Regions from separate parts of the Homo sapiens genome. Here regions 1, 2, 3 and 4 are each linked to region 5. Evidence: promoter capture Hi-C in 16 types of primary human blood cells and fetal thymus (Javierre and others, 2016). All regions are on one chromosome and are shown on one strand. The core of a region is centred on a gene start or on the middle of the fragment in contact, and the rest is flanking DNA. Distances in the headings are between cores, read along the strand shown.

Region 1 (2,700 bases), core at 148-2,647, 150 kb after region 5:
CTAAGGTAGCTATCTGTCGTAGCAAGTGAGCATAGATGACATACGTAGATGTGTTATTAAACTGAGGATTCTGAAAAAGATATTAAAGATAATTGTGTTAAAATTCTGTTAACACGTAAAAGGAAAGACACTAAGCTTAATAAGTACGTGGTAAATTCAGGAAACAAAATTTGAGATTATAAAATAACAATAACCTATTTGTTATTTAATTAACAGAGACTTTCATTTACACTGCGGCTATACAGTGAAAAGAGCATGGGCTTTGGAGTTAAGACAGATCTGGGTCTGAGGGCTAATTCTACCACTTACTAGCTATATGCCCTTAGGCATGTTCCTTACACTTTGATTCTCAATGTCCTTATCTGTAAAATGGGAATGATATTCTCTATCTTAAGGGTTGTTTTGAGTATCGAAAAAGAAAATGTATATAAAGCACCTTCATAAAAAGTGCCTTCATAAATGGTACCAATCACTATCATCCAATTAAAAGCAAAAAACCTGGGTGTTCCTTGATTAAAAGCTAGAAAAACGAAGTAAAAGCTGGTTGTGAAACTTTTGCCATTGTAAAATGAGTTAGCCTCATATATCACAAAGAACAAGGGGAGAAACACATACAGCTTCTGACAACTTTTAAATGATAAAGGGACGCTGAAGGAATACTTGTAAACTAAGAAAAGCCTTTAGTTAATGTTTCCAAAATATAAAATTCTAGCACAATGTACATTTCAGCACATCATGGAAAAAATAAATATTATTGAAAAAAACCTCCTGAAATTGTGAAAAATAAGAGAGCACCATGTGTTTTTCAAAACTGACTTATTGACAGAACAACTCAAAATCTGGGACTGACCTCAGCTGATAACTTCATCTGGTAATGGCTCTTGAGAAGAACAAAATATGAGCAGAGCTTATGGCTGACCAATATACTCACCTAAAATCTGAGCTTCGTGTCATCTTTCTAGCTTTTACTATCTCTACATATGTTTATTCTTGAGTTTTGGCTCTTTCTCCTCTTACTTCTCTATTTTCCCTCCTTACATTTCTCTTCTTAACTACCTCTTGGTCATTTTCCCCCCTTTTCCACTTTTTCCTCTTTCCTCACTTTCTCTATCCCTACCCTGTATATGTTCTTTCATTAGACATATTGATATTATAATATCATAATATTGTACTAAACACTATACTTATTTAATATAGTTTTCCTTACTTTTAAATGAGATAATATACATGGACAACTTTTATAAATTGTAAAGAATAATGCAAATGTATTAATAGTATGCTAGCTATGGTAATAATGTATTTCTTCCTCAAAAAATAATAAAAAGTAAAAATTGCTTTTCATTTGTCTGGATCTTAATTTCTTTTTGTATCTATTAATCTGTATCTATCAAGAGGAAAAAGTTCATTATCTTCGCTTTATAACAAATTAAAAAAAAACCTTTTATCTTTCCATAAGAATTCTAATTGAAGTTATTGAAAAATACATAGTGAAGTGAAAACCTACTAGATGGGAAAATAAAAGAAAATCCTGAAGCCTGTTAAAACTAGTTACAAGAAACAGGTTTGAATGGAGGAGGAAGAAGTGCTTCCATTCTGTTTGTTCCTGAATACTCTGGCAGGAACTAAATCAAAATTTTAATCTCACATGTAATTTAGCTTCTGATTATTTATTTGTTATGGCTTTAATCTTATTTTTCTTACTTTTTAAAATCTTACTTATCTTTTAATCTTATTAATCCTACTTTAAAAAAAATCTTCTGGTTACAGGTAACTATAATTCTAAAAAGAATCAATAATGTTGCCCAAAATGATATTTAATATTTAATATCATTTCACATACACATGTAGGGATTGAGATCTGACTTAGACAACTTCAACTAGGTTCTGGTTCTCTTACCTGTAAAAGTATAAAATATGCTCTAAGATCATCTTTTGTTCGTGGACTGAAAAAGAAACAAGAATAATTTATTATGGATGAATGTTTAATCTCATAGCATCTAACGAAAAAGACCAATAAACTTTTCTATGAAGACTGAGTTGAGAAAAGCCAAAAACTAGGATTAATATGCATTATTATTGAGACAGTCCATAATATGCTGAAAATACAAGTGCTTCTGTGCCTCTCCTAGGCTGATTCTGAAGATAACTAAAGACTGAGCTAACTAGGCTATAACATTTTGTGAGGTAAATATGATTAACTCTGGAAGTAGTTAGGTGTGTAATAAAATCATCAATTTTAGAATACTTATGTTTTTGTTTTAATAAAGGATAATCTTTACTTAAGAACATTTATGTATTAAAGAAAGAAAATATGCTTGTGTTTCTAGGTTCATTCCTAAAGTGATGTAGAAATGTCTGTAAATCAAATCATACTTTAAATACATCCAGTATGCTTCTAACAGAAAGAATCATGAAAAGTAAGTAATTTTTTCCATCTTAATATGAATTCTCATAGTATGAGATTTGGCCAAGAGCTTTTGTTATTCTCAAGGCTAATGAGTGTTTCTTGCCTGCTCAAGATCTATTTGGTACATTCTCACAGATATCTGGAAGTAACTTCTTCAATTGAAAATGGTTCACCTCTATGACAACCAGATGCAATTCATGATTCCTAACTGGGTCCTGGATTGAAAAACAAAACCCAGATATTAAAGCTTTTGTCATTCTCTATGCTGACAAGTGTTTCTTTCTTGCCTGCTC
Region 2 (2,700 bases), core at 182-2,681, 250 kb after region 5:
AGGTGAGGCTACTTCAGGAAGCTATGGGGCTGAAGTTTTGGGGCACTGTACCAAGAAGGGCCTGAACGCAGATAAGAGTCTGAGATGAGATCAGTTCAGGTGGAGCTGGTTATTGAGATCCATTGAGATCTGGGAAGGGGAGCCTGGATCTGACTGCCCTAGTAGGACTCGGAGCCAACCAGTGAGATGATGAAAGTGTTTCATGAAGATCACTTTAGTAGGGAGAGGGAAGACCCAACACAAAAATCAGAGCCTCTCCATAGCTGGAATGTGAGATAATGAGGGTTAGAATGATGACTGTGACAAGAGAAATTGGCAGAACATGATGACAAATTTGATAGTGAGAATAAAGGAGAGGATTAAATAATAGGTTACAAAAGAAAAGAAGCTGTGTGGGGCTGTCTCTAATCTATTGAGGTGAATATCTTGAAGGGCAACCTGACAGACACTGCCACTGTTAAGAGCCCAAGTCTGCCTGGGAAGAAAGATGGGTCTAATCTAGTGTGCCTTTTCTTCTGTTCTTTAACTTGAATGTGATGCAGTATGAATGCTGAGGCATGTGGCTCAGGCAATTCACAGAGGTTTCGCCCGAGAAGCCAGCTGGCTGCCAACACACAGTACAGAGTGACATTCATTTGTGGTGAATTGGACACAGCGATGGGTCTGGCTTTAACCCTGTTGGCAAGATGAGTTTTTCTCTCTCCCCCATTTCCTTTCCCAGGACCACGGCACACACCCAACTGCCCTCTGGGGTCAGGCGTGCACTAAGTGAGGATAACAGAAAGGGGTCTTTTTGTCATGCCAGACCAAAAGAGCTGTAAACTGTCTGTAGCTCTATCACAGGGGGCTGGTGGGGGGTGGTGGGGGAAGAAAAGAAAAAAAGATGGAGTGGCATGATTGACAACAACTTCAAGCCAAGGAGGGGAAGAGATAAGATCAGAGACTGGGAACAGAGCGGTTTAATAGGCTGAGAGGTGGTAGGGAACAAGGAGCATTTGATAAATGAGAGCGGCTCCCCAGGGCACTGGGAGAGCGGGGACGGTGTGGGTGGCCCTGGAAATTGCAGACAAAGGCCAGGCAGGGGTGGAGCTCTAGGGAGGGTAGACACTGTTGGGATCAGAGCAGGAAGTTACTGTTCTGAACATTCTTCTGTATGTGAGACTGATCAGCTCCACTTTCATTTGCACCGTGAGAAACTGCTTTTCAGGAGAGACCTGTAGTAACCAAAGCCACAGAAATAAAAATGTAAGCGTAATGCCAATGTATTGATTTTGTAATGAGAAAGAGCTGTCAACAGAGCAGAGTGCTCATGTCAGCAGATCTGTCAATTATCTCCCTGCAGGCAAGCCACAAGGGATGCCAAATTATGGCCAGAAGGTTGTAGATAAGCTCAGAACCAGAACAAGGGTAGCAGCTACATAATTCACGGCAGGGATGCAACCTGCACAGAGATCAGCTATCTTCTGGACAGTATTTAGGTGACCCCAGCAACTTTTGCAACTTTAAATTTTCCCTTTTTATTGTCTAGGCCACTGAAAACAACCTGCATCTAAATTTACTGGGGAATTTAAATATTCAGATTCCAAGGTATCATTCCAAACTTTTCAGAATCAAAATCTCAAGGGAGAAGCCCTAGAATCTACATTTTTCATAAACTTTACAGAATTTATGAAGGCTAACTGTAGTTCTAGGCTAACCATTCACTTTCTTTTCAGTCTTTTCTCAAGTGGAGTACATTTGATTCATGAGTTTTGTCCAGTTGAACTAACTCTATGAGGTCTGGGGAGATAATAGCGCATTCCTTCTTCTCTTTGGTTCTAATCCATTAAATGATAAATACTAAAAGGTAAATGAGAATCTAAGTGTCAGTTGTTGGTTTGTTTGTTTGTCCGTTTAGTGTTTTGGTTGAGATGGGGTCTTACTATGTTGCCCAGGCTGGTCTTGAACTCCTGGGCTCAAGGTCTTCTCCAGCCTCAGCCTTATCAAAGTACTGGGATTACAGGTGTGAGCCATTGTGCCTGGCCTAAGTGTCAGTTTTATTTAGTAGTCACTGGTCATGCTTAGATTGACAAATGGGCTGAGGCCTCTCAGCTCTCTGTTAGGAGTTAGATCTTGGGGCTTTTGCAGGCCTGAAGCTGGAGAATGGTAGAGAGGCCCTGCCAGGGGGGATTTTTTGCACAGAGAGTGGAGATAGGGCCAGTTACCTACGCATAGGTCCAGAGGAAGTGAGAGATAAAATGCCAAAGCTATGGTGGAATGTGGAAACACTGCCTTGTAGACAGGTGTGACCTTGTGACTTCCTCTTCCTTGTTTGCTGTCCCCAAGAGGGGCCAGTGCTGATAGAGTTCCCCTATAGAATCCCATGGAAATTCTACTTCCTGGAGCTACTCTAAATTGGATTCCACTTGACTTCTCCATTAATTTTAGACCTTACATAGTTTGGATATTTGTCCCTGCCACAATCTCATGTTGAGCTGTAATCCCCAGTGCTGGAATTGGGGCCTAGTAGGAGATGTTTGGATCATGGGTTGTGGATCCCTCATGGTTTGGTGCGGTCTTCATGATAGCAACTGAGTTCTCATGCGATATGGTCATTTAAAGGTTTTGGCACCTCTCCCCCTCCTCTCACTTGCCCCTGCTTTCACCATGTGAATTTCCTGCCTGTGCTTTGCCTTCTGCCGTGATGAAAAGCTCTCTGAG
Region 3 (2,700 bases), core at 173-2,672, 240 kb after region 5:
TTGTTAAGACTTACTTATCTATTTTGGAGAATGTTCACAGAACATGCACTTGCAAAGAATATGCATTCTACTGCTGTTGGATGGAATATTCTGTATATGTCTGTTAGGCCCATTTGGTCTGTAGTGTTGTTCAAGCCCTCTGTTTCCTTAGTGATTTTCTGTACAGATGATCTATGCATTGTTGAAAGTGGGGTACTGAAATAATCTACTATTATCAAATTGTTATATGTTTCTTCCTTCAGGTGTATTAATATTTTGCTTTATTTACATTTAGATGCTCTGATGCTAAGCACTTATATATAATTGTTATATTCTCTTGATGAATTGACTCCTTTTTCATTATATAATGACCTTGTTTGTCTTGTTACAGTTTTTGACCTATAGTTTATTTTGTCAGACATAAGTATAGCTACCCTGGCTCCCTTTAAGTTACTATTTGCGTGGTATATCTTTTTCCAGCTCTTCACTTTCAGTATATGTGTTGTCCATAAACCTAATGTGAGTCTATTGTGGGCAGCATATAGTTGGATCTTGTGTTTGTTTTATAAAATTATTCATTCAGCCATCTATGTCTTTTGGTTGGAGAATTTAATCCATTTAAAATTAAAGAGTTATTGATAGATAAGGACTTACTACAGGTTGAGTATCCCTAATCTGAAAATTCAAGATCCAGAATACTCCAAAACTTGAAACTTTTTGAAGGATGACATGATGCTCCAAGGAAATGCTCAGTGGAGCATTTTGGATTTGGGATTTTCAAATTAAAGATTCTGAGCTGGTATGTATAATGCAAATATTCTAAAATCCAAAAAAAAAAAAAGTCTAAAGTACCTCTAGTCCCAAGAATTTCACATAAGGAATACTCAACCTATACTGCCATTTCATGAATTCTTTTCTGTTTTTTAGTTCCTTTGTTTTTTTTCATTCTCTCTTGCTGTCTCGTTTTGTGATTTGATGGTTTTGTATAGTGATGTGCTTTAATATCTTTCTCTTTTGTGCAACTACTACAGGTTTTTTTCCTTGTGATTACCATGAAGCTTGCACAAGACATCTTATAGTTATAACAGTCTACTTTAAGCCAGCAAGAGCTTAACTTTGCATGCAAAAACTCTACACTTTCTCTCTCCCCTGCTCATAATTTGTTATTGATGCCACAATTTACATCTTTTTTACATTGTATGTCTATTAGAAAATTATTGTAGCTATAGTTATTTTTAATACTTTTGTCCTTTGACTTTTATACTAGAGTTAAAAGTGATATACACACCACCCCATTACAGTATTACAGTATTCCGAATTTGACTATATTATTATCTTTACAATGAATTTTTTACTTTTGTATATTTTAATGTTACTAATGAACATCCTTTCATTTCTGCTTGAAGATTTTCTTTAGCATCGCTTATAAGGCAAGTGTAGTAGGAAGAAAATCCCTCAGCTTTTGTTTGTCTTTATCTCTCCTTCATTTCTGAAGGACAGCTTTGCCAGGTGTAGTATTTCCGGTTGGAAATCTTACTCATCTTATTCTTTCAGTACTTAGCAATATGATCTCACTCTCTTCTGGCATATGAGGTCTTTGCTGAGAAATCCACTATTAGCCTGATCCACTGAAATCCCTTTTATGTGACAAATTGCTTTTCTTTTGCTGCTTTCAAAATTCTTTGATTCTTGACAGTTTGATTATAAGGTGTCTCAATGAATATCTCTTTATGTTTAATCTATTTAAAGTTCTTTGGGCTTTGTAAAGCTGGAGGTTCATTTCATCCACATATTTGGGAAGTCTTCTGTCATTATTTCTTTAAGCTTTCTTCTCTCTTTCTCTGCTTCTATTTGAGTCTCTCATAGTGCATATATTGGTTTGCTTGATGGTGTCCCATAAGTCCTGTAGACTCTTTTCATTCTTTTGTTGTTGTTGTTCCTCTGACTGGATAATTGCAAGTAGCCTGTTGTTGAGCTCACTGATTCTTTCTTATGCTTGATTTTGCCAGCTTGTTGAAACTTTCTATAGAATTTTTCAATTGGATAATGTTTCTCAGCTCCAGATTTTCTGTTGGGTTTATTTTGGTGTGGCTTCAATCTCTTTGTTGAACTTCTAATTTTGTTCATGAATTGTTTTCCTGATTTTGTTTCGTTATCTATCTGCATTCTTTTGCAGCTCACTGAGCCTCTTTAAGACAATTATTTTGAATTAATTGTCAGGCAGTTTGTAGATTTCTATTTGTTTAGGATCAGTAACTGATACTTTATTTTGTTCCTTTAGTGTTGTATGTTTTCTTGATCTTTTTGGCCTTGCTTTGGTGTCTGGCATTTGAAGAAGTAGGCATGTCTTTCAGTCTTTACAGACTGGCTTCAGCAAGGAAAGTACTTCACCAGTCAGCCCATCCACAGATTCTGGGTGGGCTGACTGAAAGGGTCTATTGGTGGGCTTCATACTAGAGTCCCTGAGTGGTCTGAACTGGTGACGCTTTCCATGGGTGGATGGGCCTGGTGCCTCAATCCATGGAGACTGGCCTGGTACTGGTACTAGAGTCTACTGGAGTGAACCTAGTGACTAGATCTGGGAGGATGGGCCTAGAGCTTGGGTCCAGGAGGGCAGGCCTGGAGTCTAGGCTTGTAGGGGCTGGCCTGAAGCCTATGTTAATGGGGGCTGAACTGGCACTGAGGCAGGCCTTGATTCTGAGTCTGTAGAGGCTGGCCTGT
Region 4 (2,752 bases), core at 50-2,549, 140 kb after region 5:
AAAGTTATAAACTCACCATTAGGGCATTTGAAGCACACACACTATGAAATCCATAATAAAATGCAGCAAACTGCTTATAGATGGATTTGTTCAGAAGGAAGTCAGTATAAAGCTGTACATATTCTGAAAAGCAATTTTACATCTCTTAAATAGTAAAAGTAAATGGCAAATACTAATTCATTTTAATTAAAAAGGGTATTAACTTACCTTTTCTATTTTGATTGGTAACTGAAATTTTATCACCACCGGGCTTTAAATTATAGGACTTGATTATTCCAAATTCTTCTTGAAAAACCTGATGGGAGATGCCATTACACATATTAATATGGTTGATATAATAACATACTTTGGTGAACAGGTTTGTAAAATTTAAAAAACAGTTTTTTTCCCCCTTCCTTCTAAACACATAAACTATAAAAGGCTAAGCTCTTGCAATATTTGTATTAAGAACGAGGGATCATAAAAGAATTATGGAGTTAAAAAATAGTGCCTTAACTTAACCCTGCCTAATACAGTTAAATACTTTAATGAAGTCCACAAAACTGTGTGGACATCTAGATAATACACAGCGGGTCCCTGGAGCTCTGCAGATCACTGTAATGTCCATTTCCCAAATACTGTAAAAGGAGTGGAAATCAGAGAGTTTTGGTCTGACTCATTAGTTTCTACTCCTAGCTTCTAATGTTGAAGTTACAGGAGAGGCTTATTTTTAGAAACTAAAAAGCTCTGAGAAAGTAACCAACTCAAGGGGATATGTAATTGCCTAGAGAGTACTCTGAACCCTTAGTGAATTTCATTAAGCACTTTCATTGACTGCTCATCTACACATGTCTACTTTATCAGGTTAAGGTCCTTTAAGACAGAGGATTGTATGTATTGGTTAATCCTTGTTCATCTTTTCTAACAGTGGGTATTTAATAACAAATTGCACTGTTCATATATGAAATATATGATTAACAGATAACTACTTGCCCTTAATAGTACCTGAAATGTTGAATAGAAATCTTCTTCAACATTGCCTTCATGTGATAAGAGTTCACTTAATCCATGGGCCAACTCCTATAAAAAGAAATCTGTTAATGATTTTTTCAATAGAATAGCATTAGCTAGGATAATGAAGTGGCTTTTCTATAGCTCATGCATATGTATATAAAGATCATATTTGACATGTATTTTCCAGGGCACAAAATGGTTAATGATTTCTACCATCCAGAGGCTAAGAAAAAAATCATTATAGGTCATAGATGGGGAAACTATCCAGTTCAAACTACAGGGGCATAACTCTGGGGTCTACTCTTAAGCAGCAAGCTAAGCATACCTCTAATGTAGTGTCTGTCATAATTCACTGCTATCTGCCACATTACTGTTTATGAATTTGTAGTATTTCTCACTTTCAATTTATATTCCTATGAAAATCTGCTAATGTTTTTGGATTCATATTTTAAACATAAAACACACAGTTCATTCATGTGCATTCATGAATATACAGTTCATACATGCACAGTGCCCTCCCCTCCCAAGAAAAAGTTAAGTATACTGAAAGAAACATTTTCTGGTTAGCCGGGCACGGTGGCTCATGCCTGTAATCCCAGCACTCTGGGAGGCCGAGGTGGGCAGATCACAAGGTCAGGAGTTCAAGACCAGCCTGGCCAACATGGTGAAACCCTGTCTCTACTAAAAATCCAAAAAAAAAAAAAAAAAAAAAAAAAATAGCCAGGTGTGGTGGCTCACACCTGTAATCCCAGCTATTCGGGAGGCTGAGGCAGGAGAATTGCTCGGACCTGGGAGGTGGAGGTTGCAGTGAGCTGAGATTGTTCCACTGCATTCTAGCCTGGACAACAGAGCAAGACTGTCTTGGGCAGAAAAAAAAAAAAAAAAAGAAACATTTTCTGGCTGGGCTCAGTGGCTCATGCCTGTAATCCCAGCACTTTGGGAGGCTGAGGCAGGCGGATCACTTGAGGCCATGAGTTCGAGACCAGCCTGGCCAACATGGCAAAACCCCGTCTCTGCTAAAAAAAAAAAAAAAAAAAAAAAAAAAAATTTGCCGGGCACGGTGGCACATGCCTAAAATCCCAGATACTCAGGAGGCTGAGGCACGAGAATCACTTGAACCCAGGAGGCGGAGGTTGCAGTGAGCCAAGGTGGAGCCACTGCACTCCAGCCTGGGTGACAGAGTGAGATTCTGTCTCAAAAAAAAAAAAGAAAGATTTTCTTACATTATATTATAATTGAAATTATCCATAAATAAAGATTTAAAAATAGAAAAATTGATCCAATATTTCAAAATTTTCAATTTAATTTTTATGAAAAAATTAAAGTTTTATTTTAAATTATTAGAAAAAGGTAAATAATAGCATGATTAGAATGATTTTCTATATTTTACATAATAAATGTTCTATTCCTTTAAAACCACAAATTTTCATACAAATCTAGGCTGGCACAGATTTGATATAATTGTCATCATTTAAAAATTATTAATAAAAACTATCCCATTGTTCACATAAAGAAACTAAATTGAAGGGTTAAATAACTTGTCCAAATTCACAGAGCTAGTAAGTGACAGAGCCTGGATTCGAATTACTGCCTCTCTATCTTGTAAAAGCTTAGGAGCACTGCAAAGTGGGTGACATGTGTCTCTAAGGAAAGAAAAAGCTAGATGAAAAAAGGAGATGAGTTATAAAGGTAGAAGGAAACCATATTTAAAAGTAAGAATAGCATTAGGAGGAGAGACTGTGCAGGTAGAAAAAAGATG
Region 5 (2,700 bases), core at 154-2,653:
GCTGAGAGATCAAGTAGAAACTTGGGAACTAGCCCGGGTGGAACACAGGCACTGGGCATCGTGCTGAGTCTGTTCATTGGCACCATCTTACTTCATCTTCAGAACGTTACTATCTCTGTTTTACACATGAGGAAACTGAGGTTAGAACTTGCCTAGATTCGTGTAGCTAGTAAGTGTCAATCCAAAGACCTTCCAGCTAGTTTTGGTTGAGCTAAAGGGGCTAGAAGACCTGCCATTAGTTAGATATTTCATTTCAAAAATAAAACCCAGGCATGAAGTCCCTTTCCCAGTGATATTCAGTGTGATTTTTTTCTTCACTCTAATAATTTTAACAATTCCACTGTTTGACAGTTGTTTAAAAGACATAGGAATTTTTGTATATTTTAATTGACTAATGGATAGCTCAATTAGGGGAGCAAAACTAGGATGTGGGTTTTATAAAAATAATTTAGACTTGACTTAGACATTTAATTTTACAGTTGTAAATGATGGTCTAAAAATTCTTCAAACTAATCAAAATAATGAAACTTCAGCGAAAGTGAGTGGCTCAGAAGGCCCATGAAACATACGGCGTGATTTTTTAAATTTTATTTTAACATTTTGATTTCCACACCACTGCCAAAGGACGTCAGAATTGAGTAAGGGGTTTGGGTTGACTGCTGCCTCTTGACCGGCTGTATGTGTGAAAAGGGTCATTTCACTTCCGGCTTTAGTGTTCCCCGCAGGGGAGAAAATTGAAGAATAGACAGAAATACGAAGTGTCTTTTAATTAAATGCCACCTTGGTGTTTTATGGGGCTCGTATGCTTTCCTAACAACATTTGTTAGATAAGTTGGTAATTCCCGGCAGCTGTCTACTGTGTGGTGCATCTGTGAACTCATACTAATCGAAAAGCATGCAGCCAGTTTGGGATCGCGCAGGCTAAGGTGAGGGAGAAATGCGGATACACCGGGTAATGAACGATATAAACATTTCAAATGCGATACACATTCGGTTTGAGCCACATCTTCTGTGTGCAGATTCACCCGCAGTGACCCACAAAGCTATTCCCAAGTAACAGCCGCCCCAAGCCTGAGGCACTGGCGCCCCGCCTGGGCGAGGCTGGCTGCGCTCTCTCTTGGCCGGCGCCCGCTGCATGCGGTACGTGCCTGCCCGGCCCCTAGCCCAGGGTTCCCGTTACGCGGCTGGTTCCAGCTGGCCGCGGAGTCCCAGAACCTCCCCGCGATGCCCAGATAGCTCTCTGCACGTCTCGCCCCGGGGCGATCACGTTGCCGGGGCGAGGGCTGGCGCCCCAGCTGGGCGCTGGTTGGTCGCGCCCTGGGGCTCGAGGCCCGGCGATTGGTCCCAGGGATCGGGTCACGTGCTTGGGAGCAGATAAGCGGCCTCTAGGCGCCGGGCCCTCAGTCTCTCCCAGCGACCGCCGCGGGGGCAAGGCCTGGAGCTGTGGTTCGAATTTGTGCAGGCAGCGGGTGCTGGCTTTTAGGGTCCGCCGCCTCTCTGCCTAATGAGCTGCACCAGGTAGGTTCGCTGCAACTCTGCGCGCTAGGAACACAGGGGAACGCGCAGCTGTGGGGAAGTTGGGGGGCGTTTCAGTTCTATCATCTCTGGAAATGGACACCCCAGGGGGAGGACAAGTGGACTGACTGCGTAGTTGAATCTGGCAACCGAGAGGCCTTGGAGGTGTAGAAATTTGGCTCTATTTCTTAAGCAGAGCCTATTTTAGTAATCAGCATCTTAAAGCAGAAATTATCTTAACGTGAATCAGCTTGAGTTAGGATTTTCTCATGGATGCGGCTGTTCTTTTGGTCCTGCACAAATGTCCCAAAGACTCGGGCAGCTGAAGTGGTGAGAACAGCACTCTGACATTGCTGGTTAGGTGGTTTAGCTTGGAGGAAAAAAATTACAGGACGACGTTTGCATTCATTCGTCCTTCTTATCACAGTTTGCCATAGCAAAATCTCAAGAGTTTGAGCAAACGATTACTTTTAACTCTTGTCCAGGACTTAAAGTTCCAAGGAAATCACCCAAACTAAAACTGTCTTTCTATAAATGCAAAAAGTAAAAAAAAAAAAACAAAAAAACCAAAAAAAACCTCCCATAAAACTACTTTAAATAGCTTCTCCAGACATAGCTTAGCAGAAGACTTCTCTAAAAATCCTGCCTATTAACTATTATTAGACCCACAAATATAGCTTTAGCTTTCATTTGTTTGTTCTAAGTTTGCAGATCTCCCAGAAAAACCCCAGAGCTAACACAGTAAATTCTGCGAGTGTTATTACACACTTTTGTGATAATGACCACTTGCATACATGTTTAGAGCTGCTGTGAGGAGAGTTACTAAAGCCAGACTGAGAAATGTCGTGTACAGTATACACACACCTCTTACTTGTAAGGCTAAGATAGGGAAAAAAATCTTAATACCATAAGCTTGGAAATATATGATGAGGGCTAAAGGTCAGAGAAAAGTCTTCTTTATAGATGCTTCTTGGTTTAATATTGCTGAGCATAGTCATGTTTAAAACTTTAAATGGTTTTATTGTCTTTCTACTTATAAATGTCTATTAGAAAATGCCAAAAAAGAACAAAAACGAAAATAGATAATCTATAATCCTATCACCCAGAAATAATAATTATTAAATTATTAGGAAAGGTGTATTTCCTATAGAGTTTTTCAATATTTATAAGTTTGTATATATAAAA

What was found. The method cuts DNA at HindIII sites, captures the fragments that hold promoters and counts their contacts. A CHiCAGO score of 5 or more calls a contact.
Region 1: a fragment that was not itself captured here is called in contact with the fragment with the promoter of PPP1R3C in region 5 in 1 of 17 cell types (M2 macrophages); the score reaches 5.0 in M2 macrophages.
Region 2: a contact is called between a fragment that was not itself captured here and the fragment with the promoter of PPP1R3C in region 5, in 11 of 17 cell types (endothelial precursors, activated CD4 T cells, M1 macrophages and 8 more). The highest score is 8.9, in endothelial precursors.
Region 3: a fragment that was not itself captured here is called in contact with the fragment with the promoter of PPP1R3C in region 5 in 5 of 17 cell types (endothelial precursors, naive CD8 T cells, M0 macrophages and 2 more); the score reaches 7.6 in endothelial precursors.
Region 4: a fragment that was not itself captured here is called in contact with the fragment with the promoter of PPP1R3C in region 5 in 4 of 17 cell types (M2 macrophages, endothelial precursors, M0 macrophages and 1 more); the score reaches 12.5 in M2 macrophages.

The regions. Positions count from the first base shown.
Region 1 is chr10:91,480,337-91,483,036 of GRCh38, reverse strand. It overlaps HECTD2 (HECT domain E3 ubiquitin protein ligase 2), which reads right to left. Exons shown (of 21, transcript NM_182765.6): 7 at 1,898-1,943; 8 at 1-70. All of the region lies in intron 3 of HECTD2-AS1 (HECTD2 antisense RNA 1), which reads left to right. Among named protein-coding and RNA genes, the nearest start is that of HECTD2, 71 kb to the right of the region's middle. The HindIII fragment of the contact is 2,519 bases long and covers 138-2,656 here.
Region 2 is chr10:91,379,719-91,382,418 of GRCh38, reverse strand. The region is part of intron 3 of HECTD2-AS1 (HECTD2 antisense RNA 1); the gene reads left to right. Among named protein-coding and RNA genes, the nearest start is that of HECTD2, 29 kb to the left of the region's middle. The HindIII fragment of the contact is 5,140 bases long and covers 1-2,700 here.
Region 3 is chr10:91,396,060-91,398,759 of GRCh38, reverse strand. All of the region lies in intron 3 of HECTD2-AS1 (HECTD2 antisense RNA 1), which reads left to right. Among named protein-coding and RNA genes, the nearest start is that of HECTD2, 13 kb to the left of the region's middle. The HindIII fragment of the contact is 766 bases long and covers 1,040-1,805 here.
Region 4 is chr10:91,496,415-91,499,166 of GRCh38, reverse strand. It overlaps HECTD2 (HECT domain E3 ubiquitin protein ligase 2), which reads right to left. Exons shown (of 21, transcript NM_182765.6): 16 at 985-1,059; 17 at 208-295; 18 at 17-123. The region is part of intron 3 of HECTD2-AS1 (HECTD2 antisense RNA 1); the gene reads left to right. Among named protein-coding and RNA genes, the nearest start is that of HECTD2, 87 kb to the right of the region's middle. The HindIII fragment of the contact is 2,610 bases long and covers 1-2,604 here.
Region 5 is chr10:91,631,774-91,634,473 of GRCh38, reverse strand. It overlaps PPP1R3C (protein phosphatase 1 regulatory subunit 3C), which reads left to right and starts at 1,403. Exons shown (of 2, transcript NM_005398.7): 1 at 1,403-1,518. The coding sequence starts at 1,505. RefSeq lists enhancers at 771-1,270, 1,271-1,772 and a silencer at 1,297-1,436. The HindIII fragment of the contact is 3,050 bases long and covers 1-2,429 here.